Linked DNA regions of Homo sapiens: regions 1, 3 and 4 are each linked to region 2. Evidence: promoter capture Hi-C in 16 types of primary human blood cells and fetal thymus (Javierre and others, 2016). All regions are on one chromosome and are shown on one strand. Each heading gives the region's core, a stretch centred on a gene start or on the middle of the fragment in contact. The rest is flanking DNA. Distances are from core to core; before and after follow the strand shown.

Evidence for each region. Contacts are between HindIII fragments. The CHiCAGO score rates a contact against its expected background, and 5 or more counts as called.
Region 1: a contact is called between a fragment that was not itself captured here and the fragment with the promoter of SELENOS in region 2, in 1 of 17 cell types (endothelial precursors). The highest score is 5.8, in endothelial precursors.
Region 3: a contact is called between a fragment that was not itself captured here and the fragment with the promoter of SELENOS in region 2, in 5 of 17 cell types (monocytes, M0 macrophages, total B cells and 2 more). The highest score is 6.6, in monocytes.
Region 4: the fragment with the promoter of SPATA41 here is called in contact with the fragment with the promoter of SELENOS in region 2 in 1 of 17 cell types (non-activated CD4 T cells); the score reaches 5.2 in non-activated CD4 T cells.

The regions. Positions count from the first base shown.
Region 1 is chr15:100,645,768-100,649,189 of GRCh38, forward strand. It overlaps ASB7 (ankyrin repeat and SOCS box containing 7), which reads left to right. Exons shown (of 6, transcript NM_198243.3): 6 at 2,556-3,422. The coding sequence ends at 2,695. It also overlaps the pseudogene WDR12P2. Among named protein-coding and RNA genes, the nearest start is that of ASB7, 45 kb to the left of the region's middle. The HindIII fragment of the contact is 640 bases long and covers 1,225-1,864 here.
Region 2 is chr15:101,275,685-101,278,891 of GRCh38, forward strand. SELENOS (selenoprotein S) reads right to left here and starts at 1,801. Exons shown (of 6, transcript NM_018445.6): 1 at 1,658-1,801; 2 at 857-991. The coding sequence starts at 1,733. RefSeq lists a silencer at 1,677-2,006. The HindIII fragment of the contact is 1,843 bases long and covers 916-2,758 here.
Region 3 is chr15:100,614,634-100,618,229 of GRCh38, forward strand. All of the region lies in intron 4 of ASB7 (ankyrin repeat and SOCS box containing 7), which reads left to right. Among named protein-coding and RNA genes, the nearest start is that of ASB7, 14 kb to the left of the region's middle. The HindIII fragment of the contact is 2,908 bases long and covers 232-3,139 here.
Region 4 is chr15:100,348,887-100,352,274 of GRCh38, forward strand. SPATA41 (spermatogenesis associated 41) reads right to left here and starts at 1,832. Exons shown (of 2, transcript NR_028139.1): 1 at 1-1,832. LOC105371021 (a long non-coding RNA gene) reads left to right here and starts at 720. Exons shown (of 3, transcript XR_007064777.1): 1 at 720-796; 2 at 1,489-2,059; 3 at 2,793-3,258. RefSeq lists an enhancer at 1,000-1,259. The HindIII fragment of the contact is 2,620 bases long and covers 1-2,152 here.

The DNA of each region.
Region 1 (3,422 bases), core at 295-2,794, 630 kb before region 2:
AAATACAATTAAACACTTTATTTCCTGTAAAGTTGACTTAAGATTGCCAAACGCGACATCCCACACGCTAATTTCATGGTCCCAAGATACGCTGCAGATTTCTTCAGCATCTGACCACAGCACTGAGGAGATTGCTTCCTTGTGGCCAGAGAAGGTCACTATGGGAGTCCTTGTTAGTCCCAACTGCTCTGTTTTCTGTTTCTTTCTTGGTCAGTTTGTGGATTCCTCCATTTCATCTTCTTCTGTAGGGACAGTAGACCAGATCCTTAGCATCTTATCTCAGGAGCCACTGCAAAATTTAGTTCCTGAGCTATCAATAGCTGTGGAATCTACACTTGGGCAGCAGCATAGGGTTTTCACTTTGTTTCTCTGGACATTCCACTCCCATAAGAGAATAGTCTGATCCATAGAGCCACTCAATAGTAACACAAACTGTCTTTTGTCACCCAGGCCACATCTGTTAACAATATCCATGTGTCCCACAATTGTCAATGTTGACTTTCCTTCCAAGGACCAGATTCGAGAAGTCTCATCATAAGAACCAGTCAAGATCCATACCTCTGTCCCTTGAATTGAACTGGTCCACTCATCAAGGACACTTCATTCTGGTTGGGGTGCGGTGTACTTCTCCGCGTATTCTCTTTCCACAACTTCTTTTAAGGAGGTGTTCTCCCGTTCCATGTGTTTGACCAAGGGCATTCACAGAAACTGACCCTTAATAAGGAAATCAAACTCCACATATTTGTGGAACTCATTTCTGCCCTTTAGTAATTAATTGATGATGTTACTAAGGTCAACACTTTAAGAGACAGCAGGGATTGAGAAGGCAACATCATTGATGGCCTATTTCTTGTGATCAGTGTAGAAGCTTGTTTGCAGCTGAGCCATGTCAGGGAGTGTACACGACTTGCCCACAGTTATGGGTTAGTAGGCTGAGAACGGGAGCTCCTGTCTCTTAGGACTACAAAGAGACAGCTCAAAATTACACTGCACAGGTAAGCGAGAAGTTGCGGTGTAATCCCGGACTCTGTTTTCTCTCCATGGGTCTCCTCCTGATTTTCATAATAACACTGAGACATGATTTGCCTTTCTCTCATTCCTTTTATCATGAGTGTCAGTTTTTTCCAGAGACGAGGTGGTGTGATTGATGTGACTTATCTCAACAGATTGAATTCAGAAGCATATATGAAAATTCAGCTATCATCTATTAAACCATACATTAAAAGCTTTGCAAAAATGTGAAAGAATGACGTTCTTGTTAAATTTTTTTTTGGTTTTGGAAAATATAGTTACTTTTCATAATGATGTGTTATTTATGTTAACATGTAATGGTTTATTAGAATGAATTTAAAAGTATTTCTAAAATGTCTGTTTTAACTTATAATATGGCATTTACTATAGAGATAGCCCACATAAAAGTTTCTGGGGGTTCGCAATAATTTTTTAAAGTGTAAAGGAGTTTTGAAAACAAAAAGTTTGAGAATGACTGAAAAATGGCATTCAACTTGACTTTAAGCATGTTACTTAATCTCTCTGAGACTCTATAAAATGGGGATGATGATCAAAGTACTTCCCTCGTAAAAGGATGAAAGGAGTTAATACATGTCATGAGCTCTTAACAATACATGGCGCAGAGTAAGTATTCAATATATATTAGCTTTATTATCATGTTTAATATGAAAGCAAAACTTCCTTGACTCCAAACACTACTGAAGCACAGTTGAAGAATTCTTCCTTGTTTTTGGAGCCATCTGTATTGTTTTTGTAAAACAAAATATTCCAAAGGGAAAGAAATAGGATTTTGTGATTTTTCTTTTGAATTGAGATATAACGGGTTTTTATTGGCAAGTGATCAGGGTGTGGAAGCTTGAAGCGATGTAGATTCAGAATACCTTGAGGCGCTTTTTCACACCCCCTTCTGCTGCACTCCTCAACTGTCAGCCTTACAACCAAGGTTCTGCTGTGTTCAGAATCACGGAAAACAGGTGAGCAGATCTGGAAAGCTTGTTTGGAAAGCTCCACAGAGACCGTGGTGGGTGTCCGGGCTCCAGTGTCCTAGACCCAGAGCTGAAAGGGAGGCTCACAATAGGGGACATCTCTTTCAGTCCCCACACTTTTCAGATTGAGAAGCCAAGGCTCAGAGGAATGATTGGCTCACAGTGGCTCACCCAGCGTGAGAGAGACCTAGTCAGGACGAGAACCAGAATTTTCCTGATTTATAACAGAAAGGATATGAGGCTTAGAATCAAAACTGTTTTTGGTCTCAGTTGAAAGCCTTAATTGGTTGTCTGATATTAAGCAACTTGTTTACATCTGATACTCAGTTTTCTTATTGGTAAAATGGAGTTGAAAATATCCACCATCCCACGGTTGTGAAAAGGATCAAATAAGGCATCGCATGAAGGTCCTAGGACACTTTGAGTTGGTATCTTTCCGGTCCTTTGCATGTCAAGTCCATAGAGAGAACTTCCAGGGAAATGAACAGTTCTTTTCAAAAGTGCCTTAAATATTGTGCTTTGTGGCTTTGTAACATTTTCTTTTTTCTGTCTTTTTAGGACAGCCCAGAAACTTGCAGGACCTGTGCCGAATTAAAATTCGACAATGTATAGGCCTTCAAAACCTAAAGCTACTTGATGAACTACCAATTGCCAAGGTCATGAAAGACTACTTAAAACACAAATTTGATGATATCTGATATGCCAGAACTGTGAGCAAGATTAGGAGTTCTATTCTAGATACTTAAAAGGCTTTTTGCCTTGCACAAAGTATATCCTATGCAATTTCTGATTTGCTGTGAAATCAGAAAGCAGGTATACACTTTTGGGTTTTCTGTTTGTTTGGTTGGTTTTCATTGTAGGGGAGGGATTTTTTATATATATATAAAAACACACACCACATGCTTGAAGGTCTTAATTTGGTTTCTTGGTCCAAGTTTAAGAGGTCCAAGCTTTGTATACAATACTGCATTTAGAAAAATTGTCTTTTCTTAAATGACACAAGCAGGTTTAGAGTGGAGAATTTACCCTTTCCAAATTTATGGTTCCTTGGTAAGCACGGTATTCTAAACCAGCAGAGCACTTGTTAACGTTTGGAGGCACAGTTTCACCCAGGGCGACCCTGGGTTCTTTTGGAAAATGCCCTAAGAAATGTTTGAAGTAACGCTGTCACCTCATTCATTTTTAATGAGTACAAACTGGCCGTTTCAAACTGTTCTTTTTCCTAATTAATGTAGCTTTCGGATGACATAAATCCAGTATCTCTGCTTATGACATAAATCCAGTACCTCTGCTTTTCTTTTGCTGTGCTCTTGTTTTTAACTTATTTTTTTTTTAACAACTGTAGTACACTACCCTGAGACACTGCATCTCGATTTCTATCTCTAGTTAGAGTTGTACTTTTAAAAAAATTAACGGGAAAGAAAA
Region 2 (3,207 bases), core at 551-3,050:
TGACACCCACAGTCTCTAGGCTGACTAGAATCCTGGAAGACTACCAAGGAAATATAAAGTTTTCTAAATCATTATCCATCCCTTAATTAGCGCAGAAGATTCTTAAGTATTTGTTTCTACAGAAAAGAAAAATCCTTCCAAATAGCATTATGAATAGAAATGAACTCATTTCTATTCATAACGTCTACTCATAGAGTCTCGCTCTTTGCAACAAGGCTAGACTCCATCTCATAGAAAAAAAAAAAAAAAAGAAAGAAAAGACAGTCTCACTCTGTTGCCCAGGCTGGAGTGCAGTGGCACAATCTCAGCTCACTGCAATCTCCAGCTCCCAGGTTCAAGCGATTTCTCCTGCCTCAGCCACCCTAATAGCTGGGATTACAGGTGCCCGTCACCACGCCCCACTAATATTTGTATTTTTAGTAGAGACAGGGTTTCACCATGTTGGCCAGGCTGTTCTCGAACCCCTGACCTCAAGTCATCCTCCTGCCTCGGCTTCCCAAAGTGCTGGGATTACAGGTGTGAGCCACCGCGCCCCACCGAGAACCATATACTTCCTACTTTTTTTTTTTTTTTTTTTTTAAAGACAAGGTCTCAATCAATTGCCCAGGCTGGAGTGTAGTGTGGCCCGAGCATAGCCCACTGCAGCTTTGACTCCCTGGACTCAAGTGATTATCCCGCCTCAGCCTCCTGAGCAGCTGGGACTACAGGTGCGTGCCGCCACTCCCGGCTATTTTTTTTTTTTTTAAATAGAGACAGGGTCTTCCTGTGTGGCCCCTCTTACTTTTACTAAGAGACTAACTCTTAATATAAAGGAGGTGCAAAACCACCGCTTTCATTTCGGTTATCAGGCACTAACCCACAGCAGCCGCAGCTCGGTCCAGCTGCCTCTGCCTCAAGGCTCTTAGCCGGGCGGAAAGCTTCTGAAAGACCACGTAGAGAAGGATGCAGCTGAAGACGATGTACCAGCCATAGGTGGCCAGCAGGGAGCCCACTGAAAAGAAAAACAGTTTTCAAAAAACTAAAAATGACACTACTAGTTGACCTTTCCATAAGACTCAACAAACACAAAGTGTAACTCCTGCCCTCAAAGCCTTCATGGTCTAGGCTGAGGAAAAAGCCTCCTAAGTAGATCGTTAAAACACGAACTCAAGAAGTGCGACAATTCAGGGATCACTGAGAAGTGAGACTTCCCAACCATCTGGGGAGTCGGGGGCAGTTAGAGTGTGGAGGGCACAGCAACTGGGTTTTGAAGAATGAAGAGCAACTAATCTGAATCAGGAAGGCAAAGGCCTTTCAGAGCCACATAGAAAGGGGTGACAGCGCGGGGAGTCAGGAGTGTGTATGGGGCTGTGTGGGACGGGTCCCAGAGGCAAACGCCAACGGCCGAGTGACCCCAGTAACTACCACAGGAAGGGCTTGGTTCGCAAAAAAGACTTGCGCAAACAAGGGACAGCCGAGCCGCCCAGGGAAGTGCGGCTCCCGAGAAGCCTCCGCGCAAGGTCCGGGCCTGCTGCCCAAGGTCCGCGTAAGCGCCAACGCCCGACCGTTCCCAGGCCTCCCAGGCTCCGGCGCCCGGTGCAGCGGCGGACGACCCACCCATCATGGCTGCGCGTCGCAAAAGTGGCGGCGCGCGCCCGGCTGCCCCGCAACGACTCACCCGTGGTGTGCAGGAAGCGCAGCCCCTCGGTCTCCAGGGCCGGCCGCGCGGACAGAGACTCCTCTTGGCGTTCCATGACCGCCGCCGCCGCCGCCGCCCAGCCCTGCCGCCGCGCCTCCAGCCGGGCGCTTCCGGTGCGCTCCTACGCACACGTGGCGCGCCCGGACGCGGTCGTGGTCCCGGCCAATCGCAGGCCGACCCCGCCCCGTCGCTGGGCCAAACGCAGGGGGGCGTGGCCGAGGGGCGTGGCGGGGGAGAAATCCCGGCTACGCTCGCCGGGGCCGGGACAGCGCGTGTGGGAACGTTCTGTGCTATCTCTTGGCTTGAGTCGGGGGTGGAGGACGGACCTCGTTCACGGATTTCTTACCGAATTTCTACTTTCTTTTTTTTTTCTAATTGGACACTGAAGCCAAGGAAGTCAGTGGTCGCCCGGAAGCAGGATTTGCACCCACATCCTTGCCCGGGGCACATTGGACAACAGGGCTCAGTTGGTTGACGACTCCCAGCATTTGAGGGTTGCAGCCAACGTCCACCCCAAGTGAAGACACGAAATGTGAGCAGCCTCCTGCTCCTGCTGCTGGTGATACCTTTCAGGCCAAGAAAGTCCCCACCGATCCTCAAGGTTCTTTCTCCAAAATCAAAGCCTTTTAGGAAAGAACGATCATAGTAACTGCTCTAACCTGTGTTGAATTATACTGTATCACCACAAGACACGATCACAGAGTTACTTATAATAGTGTCCTGGCTGTGTTCCTCTGCCTGCAACGCCGTCCCGCACCCTCTTCCACCACTCAAACGTCACCACCTTTATGGTGACCATAACCATCCTATTTGAAATGTGACCTTGGGTTTTTCTGGAGCATTTGAAGTGCACATACCTAGCTGTGTTTCAAAAGAAGGGTTGGGAATTGGGAATAGAACTGAAAAAATAATGAATAGGTGACAACATCCGAGTGCTGCGTCACCACTGTCGCCAGGAGCAGTGTGGGGAAGGCAAACCATGACATGAAGCGTGAACGCAATCAGTGTTTCTTCAATGCAGGTTTGCCAAGAAGTTCCTCAAGGGGGACAGCTGCAGGGATTTGAGCACTGACCTCATCAAGCTTTCCCAGCAGTGTGTTCAGAAAGCAATAAAGGGGACCTGGCATTCATGAGCCATAGCAAAGAGAAGCCTGAAAGCTCTTCTTCCCTGTTGGCCACCTTGAAAATGGACTCCTCAGATGAACCGAGGACTCTGGATGTTATCCATAAAGGCTGTGAAGATAGCTTATCGATTTAATGAGGAATTTTAGGAGGGAGAATTTCCTTCTTCATGTTTGCCTTTCCGTTGTAAAAGGTGATGAACCATCACCACTCTTTGCTTTGCTACAGATGATTTCTCACTTGCTCTGGCATCTTGCAGGAACATTTATGTGCTAAATTGAATGACTTCTATGGAATTAGTTGCAATTCTCAGTCCCAGATTAGCTTTAAATCCGCCTTACATCTAAATACTGATAAACTAGACAGGATGAGCAGGGTTGCCTCAACTATTTTGTTAGGCTGTGAAG
Region 3 (3,596 bases), core at 436-2,935, 660 kb before region 2:
AGGCTGTAGCAGGGGCATCCAGTCTTTTGGCTTCCCTGGGCCACACTGGAAGAAGAATTGTCTTGGGCCATGAATAAAATGCACTAACACTTAACAACAGCTGATGAGCAAAAAAAAAAAAAAAAAAAGCAAAAAAGTCTTATAATATTTTAAGAAAGTTTATGAATTTGTGTTAGGCTGTATTCAAAGCTGTCCTGGGCTGCATGCCCACCGTGGGCTGCAGGTTGGACAAGCTTGGGCTATAGTTTCTGAATCTTTCTCTCTGTATATATGTATGTATCTAGTTACGTGCAGCATAAGGACATTTTGCTCAATCATGGACCCCATTTACAATGGTGGTCCCATAAAATTATAATACCATGTTTTACTGTACCTTTTCTATGGTTAGGTACACAAATGCCATTGTATTACAGTTGCCTCCAGTATTCAGTACAGTAACATGCTGTACAGGCTTGTGGCCTAAGAACAGTAAGCTATATATAACCTGGGTGTGTAGTACGCTGTGCCGTCTAGGTTTGTGTGAGTGCATTTTATGGTGTTCACACAAGAGCGAAATCACCTAACAACCTAGTCCTCAGAATGTATCCCTGTTGTTAAGTAGTATATATGACTGTATATCTATATATATTTTAATAGCTTTATTGAGATGTAATTCACATGCCACAGAATTCACTCATTTAAAGTGTACAGTTAATGGCTTTCGGCATATTCATGGAGTTGGATATTCATCAGCAAAGTCAATTTTAAAACATTGTCATTACCCCCAAAGAAACCTTCTGTTGGTTCTATTAATACATATTGATTCACTCTTCTTTTCAGCTGCTGAATATAGTATTGATAGGTATGGATATACTATCATTTGTTTATTCTCTTTTATTTTTTGAGAATGGCTGGAATTTTCACAGCAGGAGATTTTGTTTTTTGAAAAGGTAGTGCATACATACATGGTTAAAAAGCCACTTAAAGCTGATCAGTGAGGGCAAGTCTCTAACTTTTAGCCCCAGTCCTTTACTCTTCTTCTAGAGGCCATCTCTTTCACCGGTTTCTTTTGTACCATCCAGAGATAGTCTATGCATGTAGGCAGAAATATTTTTCCGTTTTCTACCTTGTAGCCAGCTCCCTTTTTAAAATGTTCTGTTCCTCCTCTTGATTTTTTCACATAACAGTTAATTTCGTGATAGTTCCTTATCTGCATAGGACTCTGTCTCAGATTCCATCGTATGGATGTAATTTATTTACACTTCTTATTGTTGGACATTGTAAGTTTTCATTTTTCTGCTACTAGAAACATTACAGAGAATGTCCTTGAATGATCGTGTTACATTATGTGAGAGTTTATTTCTTGACTAACTCCTAGAAGTGCATTTGCCAAGTCAAAACATTTTTTATGGATATTGGCAAGTTGTCCTCCGAAGAGATTGTCATCATTTTATGTCCTTACTGACCGGGCAGGATAGTGCCTGTTCACCTGCCTTTGCTAGTGATGTACTTACCAGATGGTTTTTCTCTTTCCTGGTGTGATATACCTGCCTCTCTTTTTCTTTTTTTTTCTTGGAAAAAATGACATATGAGTAACAAACATTGCAAGACTGGGCTTTTTGTCTTACTGATTTGTTGGAATTGTTTATATATTCTCCTTTGTTAGATTTTGCAATGTTTTCTCTCTTTCTGTAGTTTTTTCACATTCTTGTTTTTGTTGTCGGGCAGAAGTCTACATTTCAATGTAGGTGAATTATGGTTTTCTTTAGCCTTATCGTTTGTGCCCTTGGTGTCTTGTTTAGGAAGTATACTGCAGGGTCATTATTTGCCTTTGTTTTCTTCTAAAATGTTTTATGGTATTTAGCTTTTTAATCTGTTCAGAATTGGCTTTGGTGTATATGAGGTAGCCTGGTACAGTTTCACTTTTTTCCCATAAAGACAGCCTAAATCATGCCTTCTTTCTTCATTACTGTGCACTAGGTCAGATATAAGGTTTTCATATATGTGTGGTTCCATTTCTGAGTTTTTATTTAAAACAACAAATATTTTGGATAAGCCCTGTATTTGTTTTTATGTAGCACCTTTTACCTGATACCCTTTCCCTAGTAGAATAAGAGATTCAGAAAGTGTTTCACCCAGTGTATTATGAACCAACTTAGAAAAATTAGTAGAAGCAAACACCTACTGCCCACTTGCTTATGGCCACCTGTGGTGCTTAGGCATGCTCTGTATTTAGTGTAGTCCTGGCTTATGACCTCTAGATCAGTGTAGCCAACTATGTGTTTAATGTCTGCACTCTCATGGCTCATAGACATCGCCAGCACAGCACAAGCTGTGTCCATTCTCACCACGGTGTTCATTCTAGTAAGTGTCACCACAGCCTCTGATTGCCATGCCAGAAATCTAGAAACCATCCTTGGTACCTTTTCCTTACCTCTAATATGACTGATTGCTAAGTCTTATTGATTCTGCCTCCTAAAAAGTTGTCAGAGCTTTTCACTTCCTTTCCCTGGAGATGCCACCCCATTTTTGGGCCAGGAAACATTCCTCACCAGGACTGCTACAGTGGTCTCTTCCATCCCTGCCTCCAGTCTTGCCCCCTCCCAACCAGTCTCCAAATAATGTGACCTGTTAAAATGGAAATAAAAATATTTCCTTTTAAAAATCCATAATTGGTTTCCCATTTCTCTTAGGATGATATTCAAAGTTTATAGTGTGATCCACATGGTGCTGCAGTGCCTGGCCCCTCTTACCTTTCCAGCTGCAGCTTTGAGCCACAGCCCCTCTGCATTCTTTCAGAGTCACTGAGTGCAAAGGTTTTGGCCTGGGACCCTCTTGGGTCACGCTTCTGCTCTCTCCCCACCCCTGCCCCATCACCTTGCTCTGCCTGCTTCTCTCTCAGCTCTCACTGATCGTTTTCTCAGGGAAACCTCTTACCAGCCAGACCGGGTCACCCGGGATCCTTGTATATATCCAGACCAGGTTACCTAGGATCCTTGTATATATCCCTGCTATGTGATACTGTTGTTCCCTGTGTGATGTTATCCCTCTGTTATATGATATTATTGTTCCCTGTACTTTTTTATTATTACAGCTATCATAAGCGTAATGAATTGTTTTATAGTTCTTTATTTTATGTCTATATCTCTGATTCATCTAAAGCTTCTTGAGGGTAGAACCCATATCTGTTTTGCTTCCGTCAAGAAAGAAAGCGAAAACTAACACCAGTTATCTAAAGTAATTGTTCCTCAGTTTTACAGAGACAAGACCAATCTTTTCTTTTATCAAAAAATACTGGAAATGGGCCGCGTTATGGTGGGATTATAAAGTTGCTTGAATGCATCATGCCTCCCCCCACCCCCCACGGGGTCTCCCTGTGTCACCCAGGCTGCAGTGCAGTGGCACAGTCATAGCTCATCACAGCCTCTACCTCCTGGGCTCAAGCAGTCCTCCCACCTCAGCCGTACCTGTTACTTTCAAAACAGTATAGTTTCTTTTCTTTTTTATTTATTTATTTATTTTGAGATGGAGTCTTGCTCTGTCACACAGGCTGGAGTGCAGTGGCGTGATCTCATCTCACTGCAACCTCCGCCTCCCAGGTTCAAGCGATTCTCCTG
Region 4 (3,388 bases), core at 582-3,081, 930 kb before region 2:
GAATGTACTTAATGCCACTGAACTTACAAATGATTGAAATGGTAATTTTACGTTATAGTACATTTTACTACAGTAAAAAATGTTTTAAAAAAGAAATCATTACTCTCTTGCTAAGATCTTGTTTCATCTTAACACACACGAGATGCCTTGTCTTCATTTCGTGGACAGGCAAGGCCGAATTCCGTTTCACAGATAGAGGACTGAGATCTGGAGGCAGAGGGCAGGAATTAAAAACAAGACAAACAAGAGCCTTATACAGGCAGTGTCTTTCTGAGTCTGATCCCTGTTGTCTTGAGAGCTGCGGTGAGGGAAAGTCGTCTTCAGAGCCCTCAGGGTCAAAGCAGTTTGTTACCCTTGAGATAGACAAAGCTCCTAACCTCTCCAGCTTTTTGCCGACAGCTCGATTCTGATGGGCACTGACCTTTTCCGACCCTGTTTTCAGGAGCCGACTCCTGGCAGGTTGGTTGTAGGGGCCCTCTTGAGTGCTTCACACACAGCAGTCCTGTTGGGGTGAAGGTCACCGTCACTGTGATAATTGTTGTCGTCGTTGAAACCACCCAGCCCGAAAGCAGCATGGGCTGTGCCCAGAGCCGCCGTGCCAGAAGCCCACGCTTAGAAATAGAGGGCCGAAGACCAAAGAGGACTGCGGGTTCTTGGGCCAAACGTGACCCTCTCAAATCCCCCAACTCGGGGATTTCGTTAGCTGGGGACTGGTGTGCCCGGGTTCCAAGACCCCTGCGTAGACTCTGTCTATAGGTGGAAGAAGGCCTTTGCCCCGAGGCATCCAGAGGTAACGGTGAGAGGAACAAGGGCACGTGGGGGATCCCACCACAGCCTCCCCTGAGACCCTCTTCACGCTGGTTGCAGGAGTAGCCAACCCCGCTCCCTGGCAGCCCGTGAGATGCCACATCCCCTCCAGCAGGGGGCGGCCGGCATCGGTCCCGTCTTCCTAAACCGGCGTTGGTGGGAAATGCCGGCACCAGCTCCCTCCCCGCTCCAGAGCCCTGTTTTCCCCATTTGTATTTCACTACTTTCCTGTTGAGCTTGGATTCCAGCCTCAAATTCCGCGATTTGGCCGGCATCCTAATCCCCGAGTGACTCTTGCCAACCACTCTCTGTGGGGCCTGTGTGCTTCCTCCTGGGTTCTGGGGCGCTGGCGGCGTCCGCTTCACCGGGAACGGGAGCCCCAGCCTCCCGAGGCCTTCCTGCCTGGCTCTGGGAATGGCCACTGTCCAGAAAGCCCCGCGGCCGTCCATGCTCGCTCGCTCAGTCAGGCCCTTGTGGGGATATTGCAGAACGAGTCCGAGTTACTATCCCTTTAAATACAGGCGTTTCGGCCTAGCTGCCGCCGGTCCAATCCGCAGCGCTTCCGTGCCCCACTTTCCCGCGTCAGCCTGGCTCCGGCCTCCACCAGGGGGTGCTAGTGAGATCCCAGCCAGCCTCAGAGCTGAGCGTCCAGGGCCTTCAAATGTCCCCATCCTTGAAAAGGCAACTCCAGTGGCATCTTCTGCGGGGAGACCAGAAGCAGCATCTGACGAGGAGACAGCACTGGCGGTCCCGACACAACTGAATCGGCAGGATGAGGGCCCTTAGTGTTAGGCACCGGCGGAGCTGCATCCCACCCCGTCTCGTCCCCTGAGAACAGCTGTGAGAAGCCGCCTATTTTTCATCGTTCTGCAACACACCTTTCCCTTCCTTGGGATATTTCTCCTCTTTCAGCATTGCCGCATCAGGGTTCCAAAGCCCCGTTTCTCTCCTAGTTCTTTCTTTGCTCAAGAAAAGCAGCTTGTCTGATAAACTAAGCTATGTATGATTCGCTGCCAGTACAGACTGAAAAACAAAATAAACTCCCAATTCACAGTCCTCCGTTGCGTAACAGTGAGCAGACGTTCTGAGAAATGCATCGTCAGGCAATTGCATCATTGTGCAAACAATATAGAGTGTACTTACCCAAACCTAAACAGCACAGCCTACTACACACCCAGGCTGTAGGCTGTGCTTCTAGACTACAAACCTGTACAGTGTGGTACTGAACACTGTAGGCAACTGTAACACAATGGTAAGTATTTGTGTATCTAAACATAGAAAAGATACAGTAAAAATATGGTATGAAAGATTGAAACTGGTGCACCTGCCTAGGGCACCTACCGTAAGCTTGGAGCTTACGGGACTGAAAGTTGCTCTGGGTGAGTCAGTAAGTGAGTGGTGAGTAAATACGAAGGCCTAGGACATTACTGTACACTACTGTAGACTTTAAAACCCTGTACACTAGGCCCACACTCAATTTATTTTTAAAAATTTTCTTTCCTTCAATAATATATTCACTTTAGCTTACTGTAACTTTTCTACCTTAAGAATTTTTAAATTTTTTGACTCTTTTAATAACAGCTTGAATACACAAACACATTGTACAGCTATACAAAAATATTTTCATTCTTCATATCCTTATTCTATAAGCTTTTTTCCTACTTTTGAAGTTGTTTATTTTTTACATTTTAAACTTTTTGTCAAATATTAAGACACAAACACACATTAGCCTAGGCCTATACAGGGTCAGGATCATCAATACCACTGTCTTCTGCTTTCACATCTTGTCCCACTGGAAGGTCTTCAATGGTAATAACACACATTCTTAGTAAATGCAAATAGTCATGGCTCAGACTGATATAGTAATGATAGACTATTCAATATGTGGTATTGGACAGCTGTTTATATATTTGTACGAACCTAAGTTAGATTCTGTGGTGGTTCAAAAATATATCCTCTAATTATGACCTGCTTCCCTTCAACAGGTGTACCTAATTCCTCTGCCTAGAAAGTGTGCTGGAATTACTGCCTGGCTTCTGATGAATAGGGCGTATTGAGAGTGATGCTTTGTGAGTTCTGAGGCTAGGTCATAGAAAGGATTGAACTTATTCCTGAATGTTGCTCTTGGATCACTTGCTTTTTTGGGAACCACCAGCCATGTCATGAGGACACTCAAGCAACCCTGCAGAGAAGCACATGTGTGGAGAGGCACTTCTTGGAAAGGAGGCCAACTTGCCAGAACCAACTAATTTGTCATGTGAGTGAGTCATTTTGGAAGCAGATCCTCTACCCTCAGTCAGGCCTTCCGATGATTTCAGCCCCCAGCCTTTGAGTCTGCCCCAAACACCATGAGTAGAGACAAGCCCTTCCCACTGTGTCCACCCTGGCTGAATTCCAGACCGTTAAAAAAACAAGAGAAAATAAATTATTATTAGTGTTTTGAGTCACTAAGTTTTGGACTAATTTGTTATGCAGCAATAGCTAACAACTACAGAGTCATAACACAAACTAAAATTAATTCTAAGGCATGTTAAAGATTTATATGAAAGCATTCATCTAATGGAGGTGTGCAAGAAGTGGC